2 separate regions of the Homo sapiens genome follow, and region 2 is linked to region 1. Evidence: promoter capture Hi-C in human tissues and cell types (Jung and others, 2019). All regions are on one chromosome and are shown on one strand. The core of a region is centred on a gene start or on the middle of the fragment in contact, and the rest is flanking DNA. Distances in the headings are between cores, read along the strand shown. Region 1 has its middle 6.1 kb from the start of APOL6. Region 2 holds the start of TXN2 (thioredoxin 2).

Region 1 (3,414 bases), core at 758-3,257:
ATTTATCCAGCTTGGTTGTTCTTATACTGCAAGTCACAATTTACAGTGTCATGAAATCAGCTTAGTGGGTCTCAAGAAATAATAAAGGGAAATGAGGTTGGACATGGTGGCTCATGCCTGTAATCCCAGCATTTTAGGAGGCTGAGGCTGGAGGATTGCCTGAGCCTAGGAGTCAGACCAGTTTGGGTAACATGGTGAAACCTTGTCTCCACAAAAAAATGCAAAAATTAGCCGGGTGTGGTGGTGCGCCTATGGTCCTAGAGACTGGTGTGTGTGTTGAGGGGATGGGGGATGGGGGGTGCTGAGGTGGGAGGATCACTTGAGCCCAGGAGGTTGAGCCTGCAGTGAGCTGTGATCGAGATTGTGCCACTGCACTCCAGCCTGGGAGACAGACCATCTCAAAAAAAAAAAAAAAGACAGACAGAAAGAAAGAAAATGAAATGAGATAAAGTAAAAAATATCAGAGTATATCATACATAATAAGGGTATAAGTAGTGTTTCATGGAAATTATGTCCATATAGTGATGATGCACACACTTACGTGTGTGTGTGTGTGTGTGTGTGTGTTATGGATTGCACTGTGAAATGGGTCACAGATAGAATGCTCGAGAGCTACTGACCTGTTCACAGAATCAAAGGAAAACCCAGAAGGTTTCAGGCAGCTCCAGGTTCAGGGACCAGGAGCCCCACTGTAGCTCTCTCGCTGTCTCTCTCTCTCTTTCTCTCTCTCTCTTCCAGCCTCATTCTGTCCCACTACAGGTGGGCTTTTTCCATAACAGAAAGAAGAGAATTTCAAGTCTATTACAATTCATGTCCTTCTAGTTCCTGGATTGGAGATGCAAGAGCATTTTCCCCACCAGATCCAGTAAGAAAATTCTTTGGAAAGGTCTCTCTAGGTTAACCTGTGTTCCATATCCCACTGGTCTCTGTGGCTGGGGTTATTTGGTTCTCTGATCCCTCAGTCCAGGTTACATTACCTCTCCGATAACAAAAGCAGTATTCTAGTATCCAGAAAGTCCTCACTGAGCCATGAGGTTGGAGGGAGGTAAAAAGGGTACCCAATAAAAGGGGTGCTCTTCTGTAGGAGTCAGCTGGCGAATGCCCTCTCTGGGGGAGGGGGTGTCAGGTATTAAAGGGCTGGCTACCTCTGATGTGGCCCAGAGACCCCCGATAGCGTTTTGTGAAGTGGCATGTTCCTGGCAGCTGGTCTTCCAAGGTGGGAGCCTCTGGGTGCCCTGAGTACCCTGGCTTAGCAGCCACTCTGCTCCAGCTAGAAGAATCCATGTTAGGATTTCCTATAACCTCTCTAGGCTTGGGCTTCCCATCACTCCACATGCATCACAGAGAATGGGCCCCTCTGGCAATTGCCCTCCACGACCATCGGGACTCCCTCTTTGCTGGGCTGAAGATGGTGTTATCTCCCCCAGAGGCTTTGTGTCTGTACATAGGGAACTGCTGGACATGCTCCAGGAAGCCTCACTGTGGCCAAGGATGAAAGTCCACAGGCCATCTGAATCTGTGGCTCCAGGAAGCCTTGCTGTGGCCAGGGATGAAAGTCCACCAGGCCACTGAGGAGCAGCAGACCTAGTTCTGCTCCCACTGTGGCTATGGACATGCTGTTTCCCCTGCAAGTGTGGGCAGCTGGGCTCTGGCTGGCTAGCCAGGGATCCCCTGTGACCTCATGATGCTCCAGAAGGGAGTGTCTTCCAGCAGGAGGAGCCTCAGCCTTCAGGAATGAGTGTGGGACAGGGCAGGCTCCCCTTGAAACACCAGGGCCCCTCCCTCTCTAAGCCTCCATTTTCACATCTGCAAAACAAGGGGATCTCCCTGGATAAGTCAAGGTCCTTTTCTTGGCTGTGATCCTATGACCCTTAGAATCTACCATTCTGTGATTCTTGCTGAGATGCTATGATTCAAAGAGTATTTTGCATCTCTGTCGCTTTGTATCCAAGTCTTATTTGCTCCCCAGCCCTGTGGATTGTTTTTTCAGACTGCCCCTTGCATCCCAAGAAGGCCAATCACAAAAAATATACATTGGTTTTGACACAGGATTTTTTCTTGGTCACTTTGCAAGCCGGGGACCTCTGGCCGGCAATGCCCCACCTGGGCCTCTCTTGGCCATGCTACCTGCTGCATGAGATGGCCTGCTCAGTCGGCCCACCGTGGTTGAGTCTGGCTTGTGTACCAGTTCCCGAGTTCTTGTCCTGCACCCAAGAAGAGTGAGGATACACTGACAATTGAAGAGTGAGCAAGGTGGGGAGTTTTATTGAGTGATGAAACAGCTTTCAGTGGAGAGGTGACACGTGGGTGGCCCCCCTATCCAAAGGCAGGAAAGTTCCTCCACTGTGGCTGAGTCTGGTCTTTTATAGGCTTAGAATGGGGGAGGGGCAGGCTGTAGGTAGTATTAGAAAAGGCAACATTCCACTGCTACAAAGCATTATTCAGAAAGAATCAATCGGGAAAGGGTGGGCAAACAGGAACAGATGTTCTCACTCTGGGTTGAGGGTTTCATCCAGGACCAGAAGTCTGGTCTTTCAGCCTTCAGGCTGTGTTTTGGCTTGAAGGTAGGGTTTCACCAAGGACCTGCCCCATCTGCCTGGTCCTTTGGCTGCCTCCTGTTGCTCTCAGTGTCTTCCCTCACTCTCATCCTGGCCCCCTGCCTTATCTAAGGGACTTAGCTTCAGTGGCAATGAGCTTAAGCTCTCCCACCTCTCTACCCATTGCTAGGTGACATCAGAGCAGGACCTACATCTTTTCTCCTTGGCAGTTAGCACCTAGCACAGTGAACCTTTGTTGACTCCGAGGGACCTAAATTTCACAGCTCATAGTAGGTCTGGTTCAAATATAATGAGTTGGAGAAAATCGCATGCACCAGAATCCCAGAGAGGGTGGGGGCCTGTGGAGGGGTGGGGCTTGGCAGCTAAACTGAGCAGTCCTCCATGAGCAAAGCAGGTAGGACAGAACACAAGCTCCAGTCCTTAGGAGAAGCAGTTTTTGGGGCAAGAGGGCAAACCATAGCATCTGACAATGGAGGAGGTGTGGAGCCGGGAAGAGGCCAAATGGGCCAGAAAGCACTGGCAAGTTGTGGGACCAGGGCAGAAGCCACAAAGCAAATGGGGTTTTATTTGGTTGTTGCTGCCTGGCATCCAGTCAGGATGGTCTCCCTATGGCCCTGGGATGCTGCCAGCTCCTTCTGACTGTGGGCCTGGATACTCTACTGTGGCCCTGAAGAAGGGCTGGTTAGGGTTAGGCTCAAGGCAGTGCCTGGTGACAGCCACATCTGGGCTGCCAGGAGGTCCCACACGTTTCTGCATTTAAGGTGAAGATTATTTTTCTTTAAGTCTCTAAAATTCTTAAAGCTTAGATTCCAAAATCCCATGGGAAAGAAGGCAAGTATTTGACTTGACACAGAAC
Region 2 (3,565 bases), core at 285-2,784, 840 kb before region 1:
CGTCTCTACTAAAAATATAAAAATTAGCTAGGCGTGGTGAGGCACGCCTGTAGTCCCAGCTACTGGGGAGGCAGAGGGAGAAGAATCCCTTGAACCCAGGAGGCAGAGGTTGCAGTGAGCCGAGATCGCGCCACTGCACTCCAGCCTGGGCAACAAGAGCGAGACTCTGTCTCAAAAAAAAAAAAAAAAAAAAAAAAAACTTTGATCAACAATTTGGAAACTGCCTGTTCTTTTAAAAACGCTCTTTCAGCTGCTGCTAATCCGAGTGTATATTCAGGACAACTTGAATCTCTGCTCCGAGTTGCAGTCTTCGAACTTGACCCAAAAAAACTCCCTGCTTAAATTAGGCTCGCCTCAGTTTTCATTTGTTTTCCTTTAGGCGGACACAGACGAGGGCCACTTAAAGGATGGCCCCTAAACTCCCGGTTGAGTTCTTTTACATATAAAGGGCATCATGCCTTTGAGGAGCTTAGCTTTACATATTAAATGGAGAAACAGAACCTGTCAACATCTGTAGGAAGTGGACAGCGCCAGTTATAAACAGGAGGCCAGGCAAGGTGGCTCACGCCTGTAATCCCAGCACTTTGGGAGGCTGAAGCGGGCGGATCACTTGAGCTCAGGAGTTCCAGACCAGCCTGGCCAACATGGCGAAACTCCGTCTCTACTAAAAATACAAAAATCAGCCCGGCGTGGTGGCGCGCGCCTGTAATCCCAGCTACCTGGGAGGCTGAGGCAGGAAAATCACTTGAACCCGGGATTTGGATGTTGCAGTGAGCGGAGATCACGCCACTGCACTGTAGCCTGGGAGACAGAGCGAGACTCTGTCATTAATAAATAAATATATGTAAATAAAATAAAGCAACAAGAGTTTGCAAAATCCAAAACCACGGGGACTTCTCAACTGCCTTTTCTCCCTTAAGTACCCTCCATTGCTACCCCTGCTCCATCACCTCCTCTTCCGGTCCCTCCTCTAGGGCCCGCCCACCCCTTCCGTTTCCGCCCCGCCCCGCCCCCGCCTTCGCCCAGACCAGGGCCCGCCCGCCTCTTCCAATCCGTTCCCCGACGGCCTGCCCATTGCTTCCGGTCCGTAGCTGAGGCCCCGCCCCTTCAACTGTGCCTCAGCCCGCCATTCCCATTGGCGGAAAATCCCAGACGCCCCTCAAATTGGAGAGGGACAGATGGGCGCTGTGGCTCACGCCCGTAATCACAACCCTCTGAGAAGCCGAGGCGGGCGGATCACGAGGTCAAAAGATCGAGACCGTCCTGGCCAACGTGGTGAAACCCCGTCTCTACTAAAAATAAAAAAATTAGCTGGGCGTGGTGGCGCGCGCCTCTAGTCGGGAGGCTGAGGCAGGAGAATCGCTTGAACCCGGAAGGCGGAGGTTGCAGTGAGCCGAGATCGCGCCACTGCACCCCAGCCTGGCAACAGAGCGAGACTCTGGCTCAAAAAAAAAAAAAAAAAAAAAAAAAATTGGAGAGGGACGCTCTTCCGCCTGCCTGTACCCGGAAGTGACGTTATGTACGTCCCCCCCCGAGGAAGTGACGACAGGCGTGCCCTTGACAGGCAGGGAGGGCTAGGCTGTGCATCCCTCCGCTCGCATTGCAGGGAGGTAGGAGCCCTGTGGGGGTGGCTCGAGGTGGTGTCGCGGCTGAGGCATGCCGCGAGCGCGTTCCTGCGCAGGCTGGCGGCCGGGCGGGCGGGGGGATCTAGCTCGCCGGAGAGCCAGGGTCCCTGGTGATGTCCGATTTTTCCCAGTTCCCTCCACACATGTCCCTTCTTTATTGGTTCCCTCCAGTACATGTCTCTTCGTTTTTGGTTCCTCTCACACTCTTAGTTCCTCCTTGAATTGTTGCGTTTCATCTTTTCAGACGACCCTGGGTTCCAGTGTTGGCTGTCATTTAATAGCGGGGTTACTTTGGGCATGTCACTTAACTTACTTGAGCCTCGTATTCCTTCCCTTACTCGCAGTGTGGGCAGTACAATAGCAACTTCCTGGAAGTTGCTGTAGGAAGACCAATAATGTGTGTAAGGTACTTGGTCCTTACATACATTATTAAATCTGTTGGTTTCTTCCTCCCATTCTTCCGTTATAATCTAAATCCCGATTTCTTTTTGGTTGTGAAGCCAGTTTTCCTGTCCTTCTGGTTTGCCTAGCTGTTCCTTCCCTTTGATTCTCATTGCTTCCTCACTTCCACGCTACAAATCTTACATATGATTTCCTTGCATTTTGCTTCCAACTCTGCCTCTTCCTGAGCCCTGAGTACTCCCCAAATCTTTTTCTAGTGTGTCGACTTCCTTTTGTGTGCCCCAGTTCTTCTGCCTCTTTCCCTCACAGATGGCTCAGCGACTTCTTCTGAGGAGGTTCCTGGCCTCTGTCATCTCCAGGAAGCCCTCTCAGGGTCAGTGGCCACCCCTCACTTCCAGAGCCCTGCAGACCCCACAATGCAGTCCTGGTGGCCTGACTGTAACACCCAACCCAGCCCGGACAATATACACCACGAGGATCTCCTTGACAACCTTTAATATCCAGGATGGACCTGACTTTCAAGACCGAGTGGTCAACAGTGAGACACCAGTGGTTGTGGATTTCCACGCACAGTGAGTATTGGGGGTCCACAGAAGACTAGGGTCCTACTTGTTCAAGTATTTATTGAATGCCTGCTGTGTCCCACGGCCATGTTCTATGCTGCTCATATGTAGACTCAATATACAGACTGGTCAGGCCCAGTCCCTGCCCTCAAGGGGAATGCAGTCTGGTGGAAGACAGACAAGTGAACAGTCTGCAAAGCTGACTGTTAGTGCTGGGAAACACATGTTCTGTTTCTCAATCCCCAGAAAGCTCAGCGTCATCTTTAGCATGGACCAGAGTTGGAAAAATATGACTGTCACCTTGCTTTTGGTGTATACCAGTTCCTGGCCCTGCAGATAAGCTGATGTTAACATCCTGCCATGAAAACCGCAAGAAGGGCTGGCAAAAAGTTATCAGTGTCGGCCGGGTGCGGTGGCTCATGCCTGTAATCCCAGCACTTTGGGAGGCCAAGGCGGGCAGATCACCTGAGGTCAGGAGTTCAAGACCAGCCTGGCCAACATGGTGATACCCTGTCTCTATTAAAAATACAAAATTAGCTAGGCGTGGTGGTGTGTGCCTGTAATCCCAGCTACTCGGGAGGCTGAGGCAGGAGAATCACTTGAACCTAAGAGGTAGTGTTTGTAGTGAGCTGAAGATCGCGCCATTACACTCCAGCCTGGGCAAAAAGAGTGAAATTCCATCTCAAAAAAAAAAAAAAAAAGTTATCGGTGTCACTACCGTGGTGCCCAAGCATACAGGGCATAGGAAGGAGTTTCCTTTCAGTGCTATCTGAGTTTGCTTTAGAGATATTTAAGTCCCTCTGGCCTTCTGAATTTTAGCCTGGGCTTTTTCATTTCTAGATCTTTGGGGCCTGGCTAGACACCCAACTACACAAAAGCTGGACAAAGCCCTCTGAATGAGGCATCCTGGGAGAAACCAGTGTAGCATAAGTTAAAAATTCAGGGGCCTTCAGGTCGGACGCAGTGGCTCACACC

Evidence for each region. Contacts are between HindIII fragments. The study calls those that stand out against the background at their distance.
Region 2: a contact is called between the fragment with the promoter of TXN2 here and a fragment that was not itself captured in region 1, in 1 of the 25 tissues and cell types used here (neural progenitor cells).

Annotation. Positions count from the first base shown.
Region 1 is chr22:35,640,653-35,644,066 of GRCh38, reverse strand. No RefSeq gene overlaps it. Among named protein-coding and RNA genes, the nearest start is that of APOL6, 6.1 kb to the left of the region's middle. The HindIII fragment of the contact is 6,172 bases long and covers 1-3,414 here.
Region 2 is chr22:36,479,609-36,483,173 of GRCh38, reverse strand. It overlaps TXN2 (thioredoxin 2), which reads left to right and starts at 1,534. Exons shown (of 4, transcript NM_012473.4): 1 at 1,534-1,610; 2 at 2,337-2,599. The coding sequence starts at 2,337. RefSeq lists an enhancer at 158-1,104. The HindIII fragment of the contact is 22,621 bases long and covers 1-3,565 here.